Linked DNA regions of Homo sapiens: regions 1, 2, 4, 5 and 6 are each linked to region 3. The links are contacts of gene promoters, found by promoter capture Hi-C in blood cells and fetal thymus (Javierre and others, 2016). All regions are on one chromosome and are shown on one strand. Each heading gives the region's core, a stretch centred on a gene start or on the middle of the fragment in contact. The rest is flanking DNA. Distances are from core to core; before and after follow the strand shown.

The links. The method cuts DNA at HindIII sites, captures the fragments that hold promoters and counts their contacts. A CHiCAGO score of 5 or more calls a contact.
Region 1: a contact is called between a fragment that was not itself captured here and the fragment with the promoter of ATAD2B in region 3, in 1 of 17 cell types (monocytes). The highest score is 5.3, in monocytes.
Region 2: a fragment that was not itself captured here is called in contact with the fragment with the promoter of ATAD2B in region 3 in 4 of 17 cell types (non-activated CD4 T cells, naive CD8 T cells, total CD8 T cells and 1 more); the score reaches 7.3 in non-activated CD4 T cells.
Region 4: a fragment that was not itself captured here is called in contact with the fragment with the promoter of ATAD2B in region 3 in 1 of 17 cell types (non-activated CD4 T cells); the score reaches 8.7 in non-activated CD4 T cells.
Region 5: a contact is called between a fragment that was not itself captured here and the fragment with the promoter of ATAD2B in region 3, in 1 of 17 cell types (neutrophils). The highest score is 6.0, in neutrophils.
Region 6: a fragment that was not itself captured here is called in contact with the fragment with the promoter of ATAD2B in region 3 in 1 of 17 cell types (erythroblasts); the score reaches 6.1 in erythroblasts.

Annotation. Positions count from the first base shown.
Region 1 is chr2:27,587,320-27,590,916 of GRCh38, forward strand. The region is part of intron 2 of ZNF512 (zinc finger protein 512); the gene reads left to right. Among named protein-coding and RNA genes, the nearest start is that of ZNF512, 6.1 kb to the left of the region's middle. The HindIII fragment of the contact is 934 bases long and covers 1,436-2,369 here.
Region 2 is chr2:27,632,917-27,636,951 of GRCh38, forward strand. It overlaps GPN1 (GPN-loop GTPase 1), which reads left to right. Exons shown (of 14, transcript NM_007266.4): 6 at 1,930-2,008; 7 at 2,224-2,318. Among named protein-coding and RNA genes, the nearest start is that of GPN1, 5.9 kb to the left of the region's middle. The HindIII fragment of the contact is 9,452 bases long and covers 1-4,035 here.
Region 3 is chr2:23,925,169-23,928,686 of GRCh38, forward strand. It overlaps ATAD2B (ATPase family AAA domain containing 2B), which reads right to left and starts at 1,955. Exons shown (of 28, transcript NM_017552.4): 1 at 1,387-1,955. The coding sequence starts at 1,602. It also overlaps a transcript of UBXN2A not described here. RefSeq lists enhancers at 622-871, 970-1,888, 1,082-1,131, 1,889-2,805, 2,392-2,481 and silencers at 1,612-1,691, 1,892-2,221. The HindIII fragment of the contact is 2,488 bases long and covers 1-2,450 here.
Region 4 is chr2:28,897,106-28,900,652 of GRCh38, forward strand. The region is part of intron 1 of WDR43 (WD repeat domain 43); the gene reads left to right. Among named protein-coding and RNA genes, the nearest start is that of WDR43, 4.2 kb to the left of the region's middle. The HindIII fragment of the contact is 264 bases long and covers 1,656-1,919 here.
Region 5 is chr2:27,066,441-27,070,557 of GRCh38, forward strand. It overlaps AGBL5 (AGBL carboxypeptidase 5), which reads left to right. Exons shown (of 15, transcript NM_021831.6): 12 at 1,054-1,206; 13 at 2,192-2,304; 14 at 3,133-3,266; 15 at 3,652-4,117. The coding sequence ends at 3,823. OST4 (oligosaccharyltransferase complex subunit 4, non-catalytic) reads right to left here. Exons shown (of 3, transcript NM_001134693.2): 3 at 4,032-4,117. Among named protein-coding and RNA genes, the nearest start is that of OST4, 3.2 kb to the right of the region's middle. The HindIII fragment of the contact is 904 bases long and covers 945-1,848 here.
Region 6 is chr2:20,346,545-20,350,355 of GRCh38, forward strand. The region is part of intron 1 of PUM2 (pumilio RNA binding family member 2); the gene reads right to left. Among named protein-coding and RNA genes, the nearest start is that of PUM2, 2.4 kb to the right of the region's middle. RefSeq lists a silencer at 3,683-3,811 and an enhancer at 3,768-3,811. The HindIII fragment of the contact is 2,125 bases long and covers 951-3,075 here.

The DNA of each region.
Region 1 (3,597 bases), core at 653-3,152, 3.7 Mb after region 3:
AGGCTGGAGTGCAGTGGCCTGATCCTGGCTCACCGAACCCTTTGCCTCCCAGGTTTAACTGATTCTTCTGCCTTAGCCTCCTGAGTAGCTGGGATTACCGGTGTGCATCACCACGCCTGACTAATTTTGGTATTTTTAGTAGAGATGGGATTTCACCATGTTGGCCAGGCTGGTCTCGAACTCCTGACCTTAAGTGTTCTGCCCACCTTGGCCTCCCAAAGTGCTGGGATTACATGCTTGAGCCACCACACCTGGCCTAATTTGTGGTTTTTAATTCATCATATATGAATAATAATGTTGAGCATCTGTTCGTATTCTTTCTTTTTTTGATCTTTTTTTTTTTGCATCTGTTCATATTCTTTTTTATTTTATTTTTTTTGAGACAGAGTTTCACTCTTGTTGCCCAGGCTGGAGTGCAATGGTGCAATCTCGGCTCACTGCAACCTCCGCCTCCCAGATTCAAGCTATTCTTCTGCTCACCCTCCGGAGTAGCTGGGATTACAGGCATGTGCCGCCACGCCTGGCTAATTTTATATTTTTAGTAGAGACGGGGTTTCTCCATGTTGGTCAGGCTGGTCTCGAACTCCCAACCTCAGGTGATCTGCCCACCTTTGCCTCCCAAAGTGCTGGGATTAACGGTGTGAGCCACCGCGCCCAGCCTTCATCTGTTCCTATTCTTATTGGCCATTTGTGTGTCTACTTTTGTAAAATGTTTACATTTTTGTCCATTAAAAAAAGTGGGTTATCTTATTGAATTGTGGTATTTAAAAAAATCTGTCCTGAATACAACTCGTTTGTCTGTTATACTTCCTTCCAGTCTGGTTTGTCTTTCATTTTCTTAATGATGTCTTTTGAAGAGCAAAAGGTTTAAATTTATCATTTTTTTCTTACATTTCATGCTTTTATGTATCCTATTTAAGAAACCTTTGCCTCCCTGGAGGTCGTAGCGAGTCAAGGTGGTGCCACTGCACTCCAGCCTGGGCGACAGAGCGAGATTCCGTCTTAAGAAATAATAATAATTAAAAAAAAGAAACTTTTGCCTCCCTAATTGCAGAGATTTTCTGTGGTCTTTTCTCCTAGAAGTTTTATAGGTTTTATATTTAGGTCTGTGACTCATTTAGAGTTAATTTCTGTGAATGTTTTATGGTAAGGGTCAATGTTGACTTTTTTTTCTATTTATATACCCAGTTGTTGGAAAGAGTTTTCTTTCCCTACTGAATTGCCTTGGCATCTTTGTCAAACTTCACTTGGACATGTATATGTGTAGGTCTGTTTCTGGACTCTCCTTATTCTGTTCTACTGATGTTTATTTAGACTCTTGAAATCAGTAAGTCCTCTAACTTTAGTGTTCTTTTTCAAAATTGTTTTGGTTATTCTCAGTTCTTTGCGTTTTTATAAGAAGTATAGAATTGGGTTGCCAATATCTATTAAAAGAAGCTTGCTGAGTATTGATTGGTATTATATTGAATCTATAGATTCCGTTGGGGAAAATTGCTATTTTAACAATATTGAGTTTTCTGATTTATGAACATGCTATATTTTCCCCTTTAAGTCTTCTTAATTACTCTCAGCAATGTGTTGTAGTTTCATTGTTTTTAAAAGTCTGGAACGTCTTTTGTTAGGTTTGTTCCCAGGTATATTATGTTTTACTGATGTAATTGTAAATGGTATTATTTTTATAATGTCATTTTCTAGTTGATTGTTGCTAGTATATAAGTATTCAGTTGACTTTGTATGTTATCCTTGTATCCTGACACTTTATAAATTAATTTATTAGTTCTAGTAATTGTTTTGTAGATTCCTTGGGATTTATTTTGTAAACAATCATATAATCTGCAAGTAGGGACAGTTTTGCTTTTTTCCTTTTGATCTTGTTTTAAACCTATTGCAATGGCATTCAGCAGTGAAACTACATGGGCCTGTAGTTTTCACTGTGGGAAGGATTTCATAAATTCAGTTTATTTAATAGATATAGGGCTACTTAGATTTCCAGTTTCTTCTTGTGTCAGTTTTGGTAAGTAGTATTTTTAAAGAAATTTGTTCATTGTAATTTTTCCATTGATTAGCATAAAGTTATTCAAAGTATATTATTACTTAATGTCTACATAATCTGCGGTAACCCCTTTTTCATTTGTGATATTGGCTATTTGTAGTGTCTTTTTTTGTAGATCAGTCTAAGTCTAGCTACAGGGTTGTCAATTTTGTGATCATTTCAAAGAACCACATTTCCCCTATTGTCTGTTTTCTAGTTCATGGGTTTCTCCTCTTACCTTACCTTTTCTTTGGTTTACTTTGCTTTTCCTTTTAAGGTATCTTAAGATGAAATCTTAAGTCATTGATTTTAGATCGTTTCTAGTATAAGCATTTAAAGCTTTAAGTTTCTAAGTATTGCTTTAGTTGCATCCTACAAATGTTGATATGCATATTTTTGTTGTTTTTCAGTGCAAAATATTTTCAAATTTCATTTGTGATTTCATTTTGGACCTATGAATTATTTAGAAGTAGATTATTTAATTTGCAGATATTTGGATTTTTTGTGTTTTTTGTTTTTAGATATCTTCCTATTATTGACTCCTAAGTTGATACCAATGTGGTCAGAGAATACACTGTGTAATTCTCATCCTTTTAATAAAAGTTAAAGTTGATGGCCCAGCGTAAGATCTAGCTTAATGAATGCATAATGTGCACTTGAAAAGAATATATATCCTGCAGTTGTTAGATGTAGTGTTGTGTAAATGTTAACTAGAGCAAGGTGGCTAATAGTGCAGTTCAGATCATTTATGTCTTTTACTGAATTTTTATCTAGTTCTATCAGTTGCTGAAAGGGGGAGGTCTTAAATTTTCTGCTAAGATTGTGGAATTGTCTATTTTTCCCTTTAATTTTGTCAGTTTTCGCTTTGTGTATTTTGAGGCTCTATTATTAGGCACATACAGTGGGTAATTATGCCTTCCCAATGATTTGACACTTTTGTCATTATGAAGTGTCTCTTTTTATCTCTGGCAGTACTCTTTGTCTTGAAGTCTGTTTTATCTGATATTAAAATAGTCATTCCAGCCTTATGTTTGCTGATTGTATGATACAATTTTTTCATCTGTTTATTTTCAATCTATAGATGTCTTTATATTTTAGAGTGTGCTTCTTGTAGGTAGCATGTAGTAGGGTATCACTTTTTATTTTACTCTGTCATTTGCTGACTTTTAACTGGAGTGTTTAGACTGTAAACATTTAAATTAATTATTGATATGGTTGGATAGGTCTGCCCTTTTATTTTTTGTTCTCTGTTTATCCATTGTTTTTTGTTCCTGTGTTTCTTCTTTTGGATTATTTGAATGCTTAGTGTCTGCCCCTACTCTTGTTTTTTTAAGAGACAGTGTCTTGCTCTGTTGCCCAGGCTGGAGTTGGTGGCACATTCATTGCTTGCTGGGCTGAAGTGATCCTCCCACCTCAGCCTCCCAAGTAGCTGAGATTACAGAGGTGTGAGCCATCTACCCCGGCCTGTTTACCATTTCTGTTGCTCTTTCTTCATTCTTAAAAATCCAAGTTTCTCTCTGGTATTATTTTTCTTCAGCTGGAATCATTTGTTTTAGCATTTCATA
Region 2 (4,035 bases), core at 227-2,726, 3.7 Mb after region 3:
CCCAATTCAGTTGTCCACCTGCCTTCTCTTGGGAAACCATGCTTGTTGTCATTAAAGTATCTGAAATACCTTTCTAATTCTTATTTAAATGAATATAGTCTACATGGTTCAGAGAAAATTTTTTAATTTACAGAGTGTCAGAATAGGAAATATTTGTTCTTATGGCCATTACCCAGTTAGCTGTTGTTCAAGGTTTACTTTTTTTAAAAAAGATAATTTATTGTTTTATAAAAATTCAAACCATGCATGATATTTATAAGATGAAACCATCACCCCGATTCCCACTAGAAGTAACATCATCATTCAGCGACTAGCATTCCACATTTCTATATACACAGATAGAAGGATGAATGGATAAAAGTGCTTTTACAAAAATGGGGTACTAGAGGTAGCTTTTGTTTTGTTTTGAGACAGGGTCTTGCTCTGTCGCCCAGGCTGGAGTACAGTGTAGTGATCTCAGCTCACTGTAACTTCCACCTCCCTGGCTCAGGTGATCCTCCCACCTCAGCCTCCCAAGTAGCTGGGACTACAGGTGTGAGCCACCACACCTGGCTAATTTTTGTATTTTTGTATTTTTGGGATGGAGTCTCGCTCTATTGCCTAGGCTGGAGTGCAGTGGTGTGATCTTGGCTCACTGCAATCTTTGCATCCCGGGTTCAAGCGATTCTCCTGCCTCAGCCTCCTGAGTAGCTGGGATTACAGGTGGCCTGCTACCATGCCTGACTAATTTTTGTATTTTTAGTAGAGATGGGGTTTCACCATGTTGGCCAGACTGGTCTCAAACTCCTAACCTCAAGTGATCTGCCCGGCTTAACCTCCCAAAGTGCTGGAACTATAGGTGTGAGCCACTGAGCCTGGCCTGGAGGTATTTTTTTTTTTTTAATGACAGCTTTATTAAGATATAATTCATATACCATAAAGTTCACTCGTTTAAAGTGTATGGTTGTTTTAGTCTGTCCACAGAGTCGTGTGTTGATAATTACTATCTTCAGAATATTTTTGTCATCCTGAAAAGAAACCCCATACTCATTACCAATCACTCCTTATTTTCTGTTCCCTTTAGCCCCTAGTGACTACCCCATTTTCCATTCCCATTGGCAATATGATTTCTCCACAACCAGTTCCTCCATAACCTTGCCAACTTTTGTTATTCTTCTTGTTTTTGATTATAGCCATTCTAGTGGATATAGAGTGGTATCTCATTGTGGTTTTTACTTTTATTTTCTTAATAACTAATGATATTGAACATCTTTTTAATGTACTTATTGGCCATTGGTATGTATATATTTAGAGAAATGTCTATTAGAATTCTTTGCCAATTAAAAAAATTCTGATATAATTCATAATTATATCAAATTAATTCACAAAAAAGTTGATATAGTTCATAAAAACAGCTTTATTGAGATAATTCACATACCATACAATTCACCCATTTAAGGTATACAATTCAGTGGCTTTTAGTATATTCACAGAATTGTACAACTATCACCACAGTCAATTTTAGAATATTTTCATCATCTCAAGAAGTAACCTGATATTCTTCAGCTAGCACTTTCCCATTCCTCCCATTCTTCTTCCTCTGTTCCACACTCACCCCCGCCCTAAGCAACCAGATGTTTCCCAAGAGATTTACATTCTGGTTTTGTGTCTTTCATTTTAAATGCATTGTGTTTCTATAAAAGTTTCCCCTGTGATCATTTGCAGCAACTCATGGTCTGCTGTTCCTGCCCATTGGCGTGAATATTGGTCATTGAACAAAGTCTAGGGGATCATCATGTGCAGTTTAGGGCCAGTAGGAGGAAGTTAGATTTGGCAGTGTGCAGAGGTTACTCCAGTCTTGGATAACCAGATGTTTATTGTCTTATATGATGGAATATCCTTCAGCATAACACAAATGTAACACTTCTTTAATGATCTTTCTTGACATAGATATGTGTTGATTGACACACCTGGACAGATTGAGGTATTCACCTGGTCAGCTTCTGGGACAATTATCACTGAAGCCCTTGTGAGTATTCTAGGACTTGCTACTGAGAGTAGCTAGAGGGGCTAGACTGGATGAGCATTTATTTTTAATTGCCTTGGACTTTATATGGGAGGAAGTTGTAGAAGCTCTGCACACCCTGCCTAAAGTGGTTTTCCCTTGTTAAGGATGGTGGAAAAAGAGTTTGAGGACAGATCGTGAGCCCTCTGACCAAGGCTTTGATTTTTTTGTGGCTTTAGGCATCCTCATTTCCAACAGTTGTCATCTATGTAATGGACACATCGAGAAGTACCAACCCAGTGACCTTCATGTCCAACATGCTCTATGCCTGCAGGTAATTGATTGTTGGTGGGGAAAGTGTTCCATCAAGGTATAAGGCCTTTTTCTCTTCTTCTTCCTCTTTTTTTTTTTTTTTTGAATCTGGTTGCTTACCCCTGGATTTGTGCTCATTCAGATTTGCTGTTCAGTTGAGTGGCTGTGAGCTGGGGAAGGTCAGAGGAGAAAAGAGGCACATGTGCTGTTGGCATTCTCTCTCAATACCCTCTGATCTTCCTCCCTTGTTGTTACAAAAAGGTGATGTATGAATATGAACTGTCTGATAGTTGTTCCCAGTTGGATAAAATCCAAGTTTAAAGATAAAGTCCTCTGGGCTGGGTCTGTCATCCCTACACTTGGGAGGCCAAGGTGGGAGGATCGTTTGAGCTTGGGAGTTTGAAACCAGGCTGGGGAACATAGCAAGACTCTGTCTCTACAAAAAATGTTTTAAAATTAGCCAGCGTGGTGGCACGCCCTTGTAGTCCCAGCTACTTGGGAGGCTGACGTGGGAGGATTGCTTGAGCTCAGGTGGTTGAGGCTGTAGTGAGCCATGATTGTGCCACTGCACTCCGGCTTGGGGCAACAAGAGCCTGGGGCAACGAGAGAGAGAGAGAAGAATAGAGTCCTCTGGCCTAAATGATGCTGGTAGAGTGAAATTGTAACATGAGGAGATACCATGAATAAGAAGATTTATCCATAATTGTAAAATGCACAGGTGGCCAGGCATGGTGGCTCATGCCTATAATCCCAGCACTTGGGGAGGCTGTGGTGGGAGGATCGCCTGAGCCCAGGAGTTTGAGACCAGCCTGGGCACCATGGTGAAACCCCATCTCTACAAAATATACAAAAAATTAGCCAGGGATGGTGGTGTGTGCCTGTAATCCCCGCTACCTGGGAGGCAGAGGTGGAAGGATTGCTTGAGCCTGGGAGGCCAAGGTTGGAGTGAGCTGTGATGATGTCACTGTACTCCAGGCTGGGCAACAGAGTGAGACCCTGTCTCAAAAAAATAAAATGCACTGGTTTGCCCCAAATGTGGCACCATTAGCAGAGGAAGGGCATGCCTCACTAGATTAGTGCATTAAGACTGAGGAGCAAGGCTGACAGTTATTAAAGCTGAGAGAATTTAATTTTGAGGGTACACAAATGCCATCACCAACATTTGTCTTTTCTGATATGACAAGGGATGTCCCTTTTTGGTGGATGCAAGAAATTGTGATCCAAATAGAAATCTGAAGATTGACAGCATTATTTCATTTTCATATTAATTATTTATTTATTTATTTATTTATATTTTTTCGAGACGGAGTCTTGCTCTGTCACCCAGGCTGGAGTACAGTGGCACAATCTCACCGTACTGCAATTTCCGCCTACTGGGTTCAGGTGATTCTCCTGCCTCAGCTTCCTGAGTAGTCACCACACTTGGCTAATTTTGTATTTTTAGTAGAGTCGGGGTTTCACCTTGTTGGCCAGGCTGGTCTCAAACTCCTGACCTCAAGTGATCTGCCCGCCTTGGCCTCCCAAAGTGCTGGGAATACAGGCATGAGCCACTGTGCCTGGCCCATTTTCATATTAATTGTTTAAAAGAAAATTATTTGATTTGCCTGATAGTGTTAATCATTTCTTTTTAAAAAAATTAATTAATTTATTTTTAGAGGTGGGGTCTCGCCATGCTGCCCAGGCTGGTTTTGAACTCGTGGGCTCAGGCAGTCCTCCCAGCGTGGCCTCCCAAAGTGCTC
Region 3 (3,518 bases), core at 705-3,204:
CGTCTTCAAAGTACTTATTCTCAACAGTTTGCACAACTTTCAGATTTAACCTTATTTCAACCTAAGAGAGCTGTAAGCCCCCAAAATAGTCTATTAAATAGGACGTTATAATGCCCAAAATTTTATCAAAGAAAAGCCAAAACGATTTTCAAAGATATAATAAAAATATTTCAGAGTAGTATGGTAAAATATTCCTGTCTCTGCCTAGATCCATTCTGTTAGTGTCAAAACAGTGTAAGACACAAAGAAAAGCACACACAAACCGCGATCTTGTAGACCCCTAGAACATAAAATATTGCTTTCCCCCAATAAGAACCACAAAATGGTGTGGAATTAAAGGAGCATTTTAAATGAACAGCTTTTTCCAGCCAAATTACTTAGCAAGTCAACCTCTTTTAGACAGAAGCAATACACTCTTCTCTGAATTCAGAAACAATCTCATAGTAAAACAAACGTGTCAATTCCTTTAAAACAATAAATATCTGTGCTTAGCTTTATAATGTAGGTAATAAAATTTCAAGATCTTTCAATCAGTTTTTTAATTCAATCACCAGCGTCTTTAAATGTCATTTTTGCAACTGCATGACTATGGTGTTCATTCACCTTTTGTAATATAGTCCCATAACAAAAATGTAGACACCCAAGAAACCACACAGTTTTGGCATGATGGTGCTGACTATCCGAAACATTCCACTTGTTTCTTTCGACGTGCTCCTTCTGTGACCTGAAAGCTCTGGTTCCTACTAGCACCTTGGTGAGCTAGCTGGCTGGTTCCCCAGCTATAATATCATGTTTGATCTCTCCTGCCTGGAGAGGCGATAGCGTTGATTTTGTTTTTAAAGTTGGTGTCAGAGCAGCTACAAACTTTTTTCAGCATCCCTGCCTGGCTGCCAACTGGAGCTCTCTGTTCACTTCCTCACCAACTTGAACCACCCCCAAACTGAGAGTAAGCTGGAGTTAGACAGCGGCAGGAACTGACACACTTTCAAGAAGGGTTTGACACCGCAGAAAACTTTCACTTCTCCAACCCTTCCACCCAGGGGCTCTGGCCCTTCGCTCTTGCTTCCCCGCTAGAATTCCCCTCTGGGGCAGGACAAGGACACGGACAGCAGATCGTTCGAATGACGCCGAAAGGGACCCCCAAAGCCCTCTCCCCTGGACTCAAGGGCTGTTCTTCACACAAAAGAGCCGGGCCAGCTTGAAAAGCAAAGGGGCCAGCGTCGCGGCCCTTCTCTGGGTGCCACCCTCCACCGCGCCCGCAGACCCTGTCTCCAGCCGCCCGAGCGGTCTCCACTGTAGGCTTCCTACCCCCAACCCGGCCAGACAAAGCCCCGGCAGCAGGGCCGGCACTTCCGAGCCTCCGGACTCGGGACGCCGCGCTCTTACCCTGGCCTCATCCAGAGTGACGCCGGCGCCACCGCTTCCCCCGGCTTTGGCGGCGGGGCAGCTGGCGGCGCGGGTCTTGGAGGAGCGGGTCCGAGAGGAGATGAAATGGCTGCTGCCTCCGGTCGCCCCAGGCTCTGCTCCGGCCCCAGGCCCAGGCCCGGGACCAGGAGACTTGGACCCGAGAAGGCGGAGAGAGCTCTTCCGGGTGTTCACCATGGTCCAGCCAGGGGGACGGAGTCCACGCCGCGCCCGGGAGAGCCGAGCAAGGCCGGCCCGCCGGCCGGTCAGTCAGGGCCAGCGGAGCCGAGCCGGGCAATGAGAGACGAGCCGGCCCGGAGCGTGCGGAGCGCAGACGAGCACAAGAGAGAGCCGGGCAGAGGAAGGGAAGTCGGCGTGAGCAGGCGGCGTGCGGGAAGCGGGGGCGGTGCTGCAGACCGGCAGCACAGACACTCCGCCGGCTTCGCCCTCCTCAGCGGGAGCCGAGCGGAGCCGCCATTTCTACCCCTTTCTCTCCCGTTCTCGCTCTCGAGCTCCGTGCGTCAAGGCTCCAGCGCCGCAGGGCCAACGAGACCGCTTCCGGCCGCAGCCACGGCGGGGCGCTGCGAAGCCGGCCAGCCCTTCCCGGCTGCTCGCTCCTCTCCCTGCCGCCTCCAGCTGCCCCGCCCCCGGCGCGGCGTCAGCGCTCGGCGGCCGGGGAGCGACGCTCTAGGCTGTCAGCTCGGTGGTTTCCAGCTCTCCCCGACCGCAGGGCTGGGGCGACCAGAAAAGCCAGACTAATCAGGACGAGTTCGGGCGTGGAATTGGGCCTGAAGCCCTCATGCCCAGCCAGGCCTGAATGCCCCAGACCCCACCGTCACCCCCGTGGCCTGGATGGAGCAGGGGACGGCCGGCGAAGGCGCGGGGTGGAAGGGGAGCGGCGACGAAGGCGCGAGGAGCTGACTGGGAATCCCCAAGCTACCCGAGGCAAGACACTGAACTTGAGTCGCACTTTTCATGCCTGTAGAAATGAGAATGACAGCTGTGATAAAAAAAAAATTCATCTGGGCGGTATCTGGAACTTGGTAAGCTTAAGAAGAGAAGGGGGGGGGGAAACACCATGCTAGAACTCTGCGTTTTTAAACAAAGCGAGGCAGGGTCGTTTTCTATCCCCTTAGCCAGATCTAAGGCGGAGCCAAAGAATGAGTACCCTGTAAGAGCCGCCTCTATCGCCGCCCCCTGCCCCCGGCCCGCTGAAGAATTAAGAATACAAAAAGCTGAACCCACAGATAAAGCATTTGCAATTTAACTTCCAAAGAAAAAAAAATTAAGCCACACAATTCATATGAAAAGCTCTGCTGTAGGCCGGGTGCGGTGGCTCAAGCCTGTAATCCCAGTACTTTGGGAGGCCGGGGTGGGTGGATCACCTGAGGTCAAGAGTTCTAGATCAGCCTTACCAACATGGTGAAACCCTGTCTCCACTAAAAATACAAAAAATCGATGGGTGTTGTGGTGGGCACCTGTAATCCCAGCTGCTCGGGAAGCTGAGGCATGAGAACCACTTGAACCCAGAAGATGGAGGTTGCAGTGAGCCGAAATCACGCCACTGCACTCCAGCCTGGATGACAGAGCCAGACCCTGTCTCAGAAAAAAAAAAAAGAAGAAAGAGAGAGAGAAAGGAAGAAAGAAAGGAAAGAAAGAAAGAAAAAGAAAGAAAGAAAAGCTCTGCTGTAAAGTAGGAATTAGGTTCATTTCAAAAATTCACAGTACAGGCCGGGCTTACGCCTGTAATCCCAGCACTTTGGGAGGCCAAGGCGGGCGGATCACTTGAGGTCAGGAGTTCGAGACCAACCTGGCCAACATGGTGAAACCCCCTCTCTACTAAAAATACAAAAAATTAGCCAGGTGTCGTGGTGCATGCCTGTAATCCCAGCTACTTGAGAGGCTGAGGCAGGAGAATCGCTTGAACCCGGGAGGCAGAGATTGCAGTAAGCCAAGATCGTGCCACTGCACTCCAGCCTGGGTGACAGAATGAGACTCCATCTCAAAAAAAAAAAAATAAAATTCACAGTACATTAGACATAGCCTACTGTTTATTGGGCAGGAGTTTATTAAACTGTTTATTAAACTAAGAAAAATTGAAAACTCAGGAAAAG
Region 4 (3,547 bases), core at 538-3,037, 5.0 Mb after region 3:
TGAGTCACAGAACTGAGAGAGCTGGAAGGAATGTAGAGACATTCCCTACTTTGAGGGTGTGTCCTCTTGGAGCATCAGTTTGACTTATAAACTAAGGAGAGACAGTTTTCTTGTATTAAAACAAACTTGCACATATATTATGGTATAAAATTAAAAAGTCATATGTACTGTAACAAGATATCTTAGAAAAAAAAGGCACATGTTAAGGTGCTCTCATCTTATTAAACCCTTCCTTTTATTTTACATCTTTGAGGCTTAGTGTATGAGGCATGAAAAGGATGTTGCTCTGAACCCACTTTCCAGCATTTTGTTAAGGTCCTGCTATATGATGACATATAGTACTCTCAAATTTGAAATAGAGGTATCATCACCCACCTTTTAGGATCCTCAGGATCAAATTAGGCAATGTATGTGACTGGTGTAGTATGGCCTAGTATGTAATAAGTGGCTTAATAAATGTTATTATTGAGTGAATCTGGACTCGTTTTACCATTTAATTTGGCATTTAATATGGTAAATCAATTTGTAAGAAAAGTATTCTATGTTTGGTTTAGTAATTGGCAGTTTGCTACGCAAGGACAAAGTGTGGTGATGATAACTCATCAATGGAGAAAGATTAGTTAGTGCTGGGTTTCTTGGGTAACGGGTTAAGTTTGTGGTTCACAGGTGTTTAGAAAAATTAGATTGTCACCTCTTGTTGGTCACAGAATGATTACAATACTTTGCATTCGTGCCACAATAGTTTTTAGAGGGTTTTTGTACGTTATGTAGCTGAGCATTCCATTTGGTCTTTGGAGCCTGGGGGAAGAGGACCTTTAATGAGGACAAGAAGATAGGAAAGTGCAAAAATACAAATGGAGGGACTCTATCTAGATGGATGCTGTTTTTAAGAGTTCCTCAAGTTTATGTGTGTAAACTGAGGCAGAAATGTTAATTATATTCTCTACCAAAGCCACATAGTAAAGTGACTGAGCCACCTAGGAACTGATGCTGCTATTTGATTGTCTTCAAACTTTTGAAAGTCTTCCGACTTTTCTGCTTTTCCTTCTCTAACAGACCTTGTCTGCTATTGGCTATCACAGTAAATGTGTTTATACTGCTTTGCTGTCACTGCAATTAAGATGACCCTATACAGCTTAGTACTTGTTGAATGAAGCACATGGCATTTCAGACATTGGACAGGGTGTCTGAGTTGGGTATCTGCATTACCATCCCTTAGAGATGTAGGGCAGTTCACATGTGCTGTGCAGTGGTCTGTCTTGAGGTCTTGCTAACAGTTAAACTTCCTAAGAAGTAAAGGTTGCAGATAGATCTGATTGGCAGAAATAGAAGTTTCTGTGTATTAGGACTTAATTGATTTGTTATAAATACTGTATGTGATTTTTTGTAAAATGAATACATTTTGTTCACTGTTATCTGTGAAACACACATGCAGTGGCAGTGAGATAGATGAAGAAATGGATTAGGAGACTAATTGCAGAATGAAACTTGAAACTTGGCATACTTTTTGGTGTCTAGAGTTCAGTATTTCTCAGAGCAGATTTTGATCCATTAGTGGATTATGTAATAAACTTAGTGGATTGTAACATTAAAAAAAAAACAAAATAGAATGGAAAGTATCAGAGTACTACTAGCCGTGGGAAGTTTCTCTGTGAAGCTTGTTTCTATATGTGTATTTTTATGAGAGTGTAGTGACTGCATGTAAAACTCCTCTTTTTCTGGGATTTTAGTCTAAAAAGTCATTACTTTAATTGCTGTACAAATTCAGACTTCTCATCACCTGAATGTGCTTTTTTCTGTCTTCATCCCATCTGTACAACTCCTTGCTTTTATAAATTATGCACATGTGCCATTCAGATTCTCCCTCAGCCTTCTGATTGTTTCTGGATCAAATGCTGATGATGGATCAAATGCTGATAAGCTTTTCTCATAAGACAGGTTTCAGTATTCGTTGCTTAACTCAGTTTGCCCTTCATGGTGGAAAAGACTCCTTAGTCCGAGAAATCACCTCCTTGGGGTATTCACTTCTGATGCCTTCAGGAATTGAGATTTTCCAGTTACAAATATATAAACTAAATTTTTTAGCCTACCTTTTTATTACTTAATATATTTATCTGTATAATCTGTGCTGGGCACTTAAGAGGAAACACAACTGACTGTGACTAAAGTGTAAAAGAAGAAATACATTTCATATTTGCCGTGTCTAATGCAGGGTATGACATGTGTCTTAAGGGAAAGAAGTTTCCGTGGAGGAGGTGGTATTTGAGGTGGGCCTTAAAGCATGGATAGGATTTTTAACCAATGAAAATTGAGGTGAGTAGGAAAGGTCCCCTTCCAAGTGAAGGAAAAGCAAAAGCAAAATAGGAAAATGGGTGTATAGGGAGTGTTAACCTAAGGATGGAATTGGAGATAAGACTAGAGAAGGTGGGTTGAAGGCAAATTGTGGATGCTTTTAAATGCCATAGAACTGTTTATATTGATTTATTCTCTGGAGAGTCATTGAAGTTTTTTTGATCACAGGAATAACATGTTTAGATAGTAAATGCCAACAGAAGTTTCTCATCTATAATCAGTAGCACTAAACTCTTGGTTTGAAAAATATTTAGTATGGGTAATACTTGGAGTATCAGTTTTCATTAAAATGTACATTGGTTATATACACTTCTGGTCTGATGTGTTACCTTTTTAAATATGCTTATCCTGCTGAATAAAGACCATCCAACCTGAAAAATAAATGAGTCCTGAGTTCTTTAAGTTCAATAAATTGGAGTAATATTTAGGTTTAGACCAGTTATCCTTAAAGTTGGTCATAAATGCTGTAGATATTCCTTCCGCCTGCCCCTGCTTGCTTCTACCAAAAAATACAGAGATTTGCAGATGCAGAAATTAAGGCTTTGACTATGTTATGCTTGACATAGGCTATGTAAATTTCTAAAATTTCTTTGTGCTTTTTAATGGAAATTCAAATTGGCAATAAAGCATACGCATATTTGGACCTGTCTTTGTTTCACACATCGAGAAACTTCCATTTAGATAGTTTTTATTTGGGAAAACCAAGAGTAGAAGAAAGATTTCATGGAATCTTTTTTTCGTTTTGTTTTGTTTGAGATGAGTCTCTGTCGCCCAGGCTGGAGTGTAGTGGCAGGATCTCGGCTCACTGCAACCTCTGCCTCCCGGGTTCAAGCAATTCTCTGCCACCTGAGTAGTTGGGATTACTAGCGCCCACCACCACGCCCGGCTAATTTTTTTTGTATTTTTAGTAGAGACGGGGTTTCACCATGTTGGCCAGGCTGGTCTTGAACTCCTGACCTCGTGATCCACCTGCCTCAGCCTCCCAAAGTGCTGGGATTACAGGCGTGAGCCACCACACTCAGCCTTCTTGGAATCTTTTTAAAAAGATGAATCTTTTCCTGCTGAGATGGTACTAGGTTAATGTACTTCCCCCAACTCTCCTTGCCTGAAATAGGTGTTTGTATTTATAACCTTATACAGAAATTATTTTTGCCCCTGGAATCATTCAAAGGTAGCTTTAGAAATTCATGTAACT
Region 5 (4,117 bases), core at 147-2,646, 3.1 Mb after region 3:
AGTGGACAATTAGAGCTGGATTTCAGGAGAAAAGGGCTACAGAGTGATTTGGGAGTTTAAGAGTAAGTAGAGCAGGAGAGGCCCAAGGACAGAATGGTGGGGAAGACTTGACATTTAAGGGGCAGGAAGAACAGCTGGAAGAGAAGCAATCAGTGGTAAGAGGGGAACCAAGGAAAGCTGTGTTAGCCAAGCTCAGTAACTTCTTTGCCAAAAGAATAAACTGGCCAGGTGCGGTGGCTCACACCTGTAATCCCAACACTTTGGGAGGCGGAGGTGGGTGGATCTCTTGAGCCTAGGAGTTCAAGACCAGCCTGGGCAACATGGCAAAACCCCGTCTCTACTAAAAATACAAAATTTAGGCTGGGCGCGGTGGCTCACACCTATCTGTAATCCCAGCACTGTGGGAAGCCAAGGCGGGTGGATCAGAAGGTCAGGGGTTTGAGACCACCCTGACCAACATGGTGAAACCCTGTCTCTACTAAAAATACAAAAATTAGCCAGGCATGGTGGCATGCGCCTGTAATCCCAGCTACTCGGGAGCCTGAGGCAGGAGAATCGCTTGAACCCGGGAGGCGGAGGTTGCAGTGAACCAAGATCGCACCACCACACTCCAGCCTGGGCAACAAAGCGAGACTCTGTCTCAAAAACAAAACAAAAAAAAAATTAGCTGAGCATGGTGGCGGGCACCTATAGTGCCAGCTGCTCAGGAGGCTAGGTGGGAGGATCACCTGAGCCTAGGAGGCTGAGGCTCGGTGAGCCATGATCGTGCCATTGTGCACTTCTTCAGCCTGGATGACAGAGTGGAAACCTTTAAAAAAAAAAAAAAAAAAAAAAACTAGCAGGATGAAGGCTGGTGGAGAATGGATAACTGTAATAAATAGTAGGTCTTTCTACCCATCTTATATTAATAGTTACTTCAGGAGAGGGATGTGGGTCTGATGACAAGCTTGAAAACTGGCATCTTTTGACCACGGAAGCCAGCAGGTCAGTGAAGGCTGCCTCATAGTGCCCCACTTATTTGCCCTTTTATCTGCTTGTATCTCTTCCACTCAGAGCCCCGAAGCCAGGACAGGAGACGGCAGCAGCAGCCCCTGAACCATCGTCCTGCAGGCAGCCTCGCTCCATCCCCAGCTCCTACTAGTTCTGGCCCAGCCTCCTCACACAAGCTGGGCTCCTGTCTACTGCCTGATTCATTCAACATACCAGGTCTGTACCCACTGCCACTGAAATCTGGGTTTGCCAGCCTCCTCCATGGCCAGGCCAGGTTCTTTAAGCCTAGTTGGGAGACCAGGGGCATCACTTATCCTCTTGGTATCCTAAACCTCTAACACTGGTGCCTTTGTATAGGAAGCTGGAATTTATTAATGTGTCTGTGTAATAAAACAATAGTTAACATTTACTGAACATTTACTATGTGCCAGGCACTGCTCTACACACTTAATCTCATTTTATCAGTTGAGGAACCTGAAGACTTTTGTCTACCTGCAAAATGCTACTTATGCAAATTCCCTGACTCCAGGAGCTGGGCAACACTAGACAAAACAGGAGAATGAAAAAAGCATGACGGTACTTTCTCCTGTCAACACTGCTAAATGCTGTGTGTAGCCGTATCATTCACACAAAGCCATCTCTTCTCCTTTAAATTATAGACCCAGCTATATAAAGAAAGGGATGGGAATGATTTTAAGACTCTAGTCCAACATGTTCTACCTCATTCAAAGACCCCTACTCCCAACCTGTCAACTCTCCTCAATGGGTAGCACTGAACCCACCAGTCCTGGGTAGAGCTGACTTGATCCTCAAATGCTAAACATATGATTGCGGCAGTATAAACTGACACAGGAGTTAAGCTTGGGTGCGTTCCGATTCTAGCCTGGAGTTGCTGCTCCACCCCTTGGACCACCAGACTAGAGCCTCAACCAGGGGTGATTTTGCTGCCAGGTGACATCAGGCAACATCTGGAGACATTTTTGGTTGTTACACTGAGGAGGGGGGAGATGAGGAAACAGCATAAATTGTTTAGAGGCTAGGGATGCTGCGAAACATCCTACAATGCACAAGACTACTCCCCACGATAAAGAATTATCCAACCCAAATTGTCAACGTGCCAAGGTTAAGAAACCCTGATCCTTTGGAAGTTACCTCCTCTTCTCTGTGACCCCTACCCTGATCAGTTTCCTCTGTTCCCTAGGGAGCAGTTGCTCACTCTTGTCCTCTGGAGACAAACCAGAGGCTGTCATGGTAATCGGGAAAGGTCTGCTAGGGACTGGAGCTCGGATGCCCTGCATCAAGACTCGATTGCAGGTAATATTTTTGGGTCTCCAGCATAGCTACTCTGGCAGAACCCAGCAAGGCACTGTTCCTCTGGGTAGTGGGAGGGAAAATGCTCAGCACTGCTTTACTGCATCTACCCTTGGCCACATCAGAGAGCTTCTCTGGTGCCTGAGTGCCTGTCTGTCCAGTCCCCTTCCTGCCCTCCACCATCCCCATCAGCCAGGTCATTTGCTTGCTTTCAACCTGTGTCCCTGCCAGATATACCCCAACCTTAGCCTGCTAGCTTTGGCTTTCCCTGCCCCTGCCCTTAGCTTCTCCTCTCTTTCTGCCCAGACCTGTCCGAGGAGAGTTTCCGCCAGGAGGGGTCCCGGATTCCCCAGGTAACACATTTGGTTGCTGCTGCTAGGAACAGCCCTGCCACCAACTCCGATTCAGTCCAGATCCCCATGCTAGGTAAAGCTGAGTATAGGCAGAGGCTGACTGGATGGGTGAAGTGTACACTGCTCTGGCAGGGGCTAAAGCATAGAGGGCTCTGAGAGAGGTCTACCAACCCTCCACTATCTTTCTACACAGTGTTTCTCTACTCACCCAGACCTTAGTCATGGTGTAGCCATGGCGGTTAAATGCTGGATCCGTTTGCCACCCCTAGTTATAGACTTGGAGTGCATAGTCATGGACTGAATCCAGGACTTCTCTGGCTATTATCTTGCCTCACCCTCTCAGCTAGAATTCAATGTCCCAGTACCTCTACTGATCCCTATACTACAACACTCTTATGCATGGAAACTCTAGAAGCAAACTAAAAGCAAAAAACTCATGGAAGAATCCAGCCTCTTAGCGCAAACCCTGTCCACACAGGCTAGGCCCAGGTTGGGCCGGGGCTCACCGCCGACTCGCAGAGGGATGAAAGGCTCTTCAGGCCCCACATCCCCTACCCCCCGGACCAGGGAGAGCAGTGAGCTGGAGCTGGGATCCTGCTCTGCTACACCAGGGTGAGCACTTGGGTCCAGTCCCTCACACCACCCCTCACTTCTGTCCCCTCATTCCCATTTCTGTCATTCAGAATAATTTTCTGCTTCCCTACTCCTTTTGAGCACAAAGACTAAATGTACTTCCATTAAGAATCTAGTCCCTGATTTTTTTTTCCCCCACCATGGCCAAGTCTTCAATCCAAAGCAAAAGAAAACAACTTTTAGTCAGGGCCTAAGGTCTAGGAGCTGGCTGGTTCCAGCGTCAAACCACTGTGCAGTAACCAACTTGCCCATCCTTACCCATCTTCATCTCGCTCCACTTCTTTCACTTCCCAGCCCCTGGTTAGCAGAACAGAAGAGGAGGAGAGTTTTCACAGCCCTGATTCCTCTCTCTTTTCTGTTGCAGGCTGCCTCAGGCCAGGCCCCCACGGCCCCGCTCTGCCCCTGCCTTTTCTCCTATATCCTGTAGTCTATCTGACTCCCCATCCTGGAATTGTTACAGCAGGGGTCCCTTGGGCCAACCTGAGGTTTGTTTTGTCCCTAAATCTCCCCCACTGACTGTTTCTCCCCGGGTCTGATAATGCCTTTATGTTCAAGCCCAGGATATAGCCCCAAGATGGGGTAACAGTGGGAAATATGCTAGTTCCCCTCCAGGCCGCTGATTCCATGTGACAGCCGTTAAGTCCTTGGAATGCCAGCCACGCTGTCCAAGGCATTACAGAGTATCACCTTGAGACAGAACAAAACAGGGACCTGCCACCCCTTCCCTCCCTCCGCAGCACAAGATTTTGGGACCACAAAAAAAAGTCTATATTTTTATATTGGGGGGAGGGAGTAGAAAAGCAAGCCCCTATACTGGGCCCTATTCAGTG
Region 6 (3,811 bases), core at 763-3,262, 3.6 Mb before region 3:
GATCTTAAGTTTTTCAGAAACTGCCTAAAGTCAGGGATCACCACTTTGAGATCCAGAACTTCTTACTCTTGTCATAAGATGGCTACTACAATAAGATAGATCAAAGAGCTGTCCTCAAACCAGGTTTCCTCCATTAGTGTATTTTTCCCCAGAACTAAAAAAATGTAAATAATCCTTCCCTACCGCCCCGCCATGACCACATTGTATGTGTGTTGGCAGCCAGCTACAGGTTCCATTTCCCTGGGCAGTACTGACTAAGTGGTTTTGAGTACAATTTCATAGCCAATTGTACCAAGTCCCTTCCAGGAAACATTTTAGGGGGCTTCTGTGGTCCCAACATATTTAGCTCCAAATAGGTGATGACTACCTTTTTTTTCCTGTCCCATTTGCAGTCAATCAAACCATCTAACACTTCAATTACCTCCCTTCTCCTTTTACACTTCATGCTACTTCTTTTTTTGCACTTGCCAGCTACAGTGATATGCATACAAGGTGTGTACATTTTGATATTTCCCAGTACTCTATTCTAAAATCTTTTATTCCTCCACAAGAGAACAGTGAGAGAGTAAGATGTGAAAATCAACAATATGCAATACGCAACCTGAAAATGGTTGGGATCCAGTAGCTAAACTTGCAGAATGGAACTTACTAATGAAACTATGCTTTTGCCAACAGCTTAAATAAACAATCTGTTTAAAAATTCTCTAAAGCACTTAAGACCATAAAAAGGAACCAGCCAAAGGTCAAATAAAACTTTTAATATTTGTGTTTAATTAGGCGTGTCTTGATTTTTCATTTAAAAAGATAACTCTCGAGTTATTTGAAGAAAAAGTCACTAAGGAAAAAAAACACTAACATGTCTCTAAACATAATGCTACATGAAACTCAAAGAAAAAGCATTTATCACGCACCTACCTAATAATTCTATACAGCGTTTCACTCACTGGAAAAGCTTGAAAATAGAAAACTTCCACTTTTTCAACTACAAAAGCAATTAAGTTTTAAATAAAAACTGTCTCCTGTCTATATATATTGCCAAATATAAAAATCACTATTAAAATATTAGCTCCTAAATGATAGGGTTTGAGGAAACCTTTTTCCACAACAGAATTCCGAACTGACTGAAAGACACAGTAGTTGGACTTGTGTTAATCCAAAGATTTCCTTTACTACTGATAAAACCACAGTGGAGGCATAATTTAGACCTAGGCCAAGTGGGCTTCCAAACACACTCCATAATTATTCTAACCCAGTCACAAGTAGCACTGGACAACTACTGTCCTCTGGAAATGGGGAGTCTAACTTTGGTAGTCACATGAAAAAGCAGGGCAAATTAAGTGCTTTCTGCAGGGAGAAGACTCCCAGAGAGAAAGCGAGGAAGGGGCTCTGCCATATTTCATCAGCGTTCCCTCTTACAAACTCATCAAAGCGAAGTGAGGAGGCAGGACAAAACGAACAAGTCAGACTATTTTAATGCATTTCCTAAAAACAGCAAGGGTCTGGCACCGGGGCTCATGCTTTTAATACCAACATTTTGGGAGGCCAAGGCGGGAGAACTGCTTGAGCCCAGGAGTTTGAGACCAGCCTGGGCAACACAGCAAGACCTCACCTATATTAAAAATTAATAATAATAATAATAATAATAAAGAAAAAAAGCAAGAAATCTTAATATGCCACAGACCAATTTACCTGGCTATAAGTGTAATTTTTATCTTAATCACACCTGTTAGTAAAATGGTCTCAAGCTGTGATTGCAGCCATGTAGACAAAGCCATGTGAGACTCAAATATTCGGATATTTTAAATATCTGTAAATTTTAAGAATATGAAAAAATACAAGTATTTCCATATCCTGGAAACCCAACAAGGTATTTAAGTTAGGACGTATGTAGAACTTGAGTTTAGGAGACAGGAATCAACCTCCACTTAAAACTATGCAGATCATGTTAGGGTCTATAAAAAGGAGACAGCTTGGTCACTGAGAAAATTGGCTGTGGATTTCACACCTGGCCCAAATCTCTGGTCATAATTACTTTTGTTAACTAAGATAAGTACCTACTCCGGAAGGCAAATTATCTTTCCACACCAGAAAGGTTTATAAACAAGCCGGGTGTGGTGGCTCACGCCTGTAATCCCGGCACTCTGGGAGGGCGAGGCGGGAGGATCGCTTGAGATCGGAGTTCAGCCCAGGAAACACAGTGAGACCCTGTCTCTACAAAAAATGCAAAAATTAGCCGGGCGTGGTGGCGTGCGCCTGTACCCCCAGCTACAGTTACTCGGAAGGCTCAGGTGGAAGAACAGTTGCAGCCCGGGACGCGGAGGCTGCAGTGAGCCCAGATCTCACCACCTGCACTGCAGTCTGGGCGACAGAACCAGACCCTGTCTCAAACAAGAAAAAAAGATTCATAAACAAGTATGGAATGCTTGAGAGAAACAAAATCCAAGTATTATTTGGTAATTTATATACAGTATTTGTAATGCCTGAGAATTTATTCTAAAGTGACAGCTTTGTAAGAGCAAAGTAAATGTCAGTAATTAATTTAGGCTCTTTTAAAAAGTTGAAATCTTGCTAAATGCTGAAACACCTAAGAGAACTTTGGACTCAAATTAAGGAAAGCATGTGTTAAACACAGCTTAAATTGCTGGAAAATGCGTAAGTTACTGGCAATTATAACTCAAAATAGCTAGACCTGTAAACAAAATTTAAAAACTGGACTTAAATCCTCAAGAACCAGGTTTCTGAAATAAAATTTTATTTTTAAGATTATCGTAAACCTTTTCTGCATACAAAAACTGCCCTCATGCACACCAAGAAAATTCTACACAATGCAATTTCACCAAAAATCGGAATTTTAAAGAAATTCTTGCAGCACGGAAAATGCCATCATTTTTATTCATAATGATTGAGCAAATGAAGTAAATCATTGTTTAAAAGGAGGCTAGGAAGAGAAACAAGTTGAAAATACTCATTTTTGTTTTTTTTTTTTTATTTACAGGATTCCTTAAGTCATCTTCCAATACTCCAGGTCACATGGTGAAGAGTCACCTGTTAAACACGAAATCTAACCATTAAACAAGCTTTTAAAATCCTTCGGTAACTCCCTTTATTAAAATTGTTTTCTTGACATACAGTACCTTTACAGGTATTACATTTCTCTTCACCGTTTACAAGCATTTTTCTCATGTTTTCCTTCACCAAAACATCTGCCCCGTTTTCTCAACAAGTAAAAATCTCAAAGTACTAAGTCCTAACATGATGTCTTATTGCACCTAATATGCTGGCAATACATTCCTCTCTTCAAAAGTTTACGTATGTTAGAATAAAAAGCTAAGTTAAGTAGGTTTTCTCTGGCTGTGTTTTCAGAAACAACACTAACTTTTACACGTGTTTGGGCATGAAACTTTAAACATTTTCCCCAAAACCTGACCCAATTCAGATACAAAACTACTGCTCAAATAGTAGAAGCCGCTAATCTTGTCTTTGGTTTTAATTTACATATTTTTCTGAATATCGAAATCCGTTCCTATAACCTAAACAAGGCGAATCCAAGTCACTGCTTCATACCCACATCTGTCCACGGCAAGCTTTTCCCGGACACACTCGGGCCTTTGAAAATGCCCACACTTGTTTTCATAAACCCACTCCTTCCTCTTCACCCACTTGCAATCCGCATGCTTCTCTGGGGCCACCCGGCCTCTCCCCTCTTTCCGAACCCTAGGGCCGACAGCTCGGTCTCTAACCTCCAGCGCGCCGAATCGGAGGGAGAACCGGGTCGGCGCCCCACGCCCCCGAGGCGGCGGCCCCGCAGAGG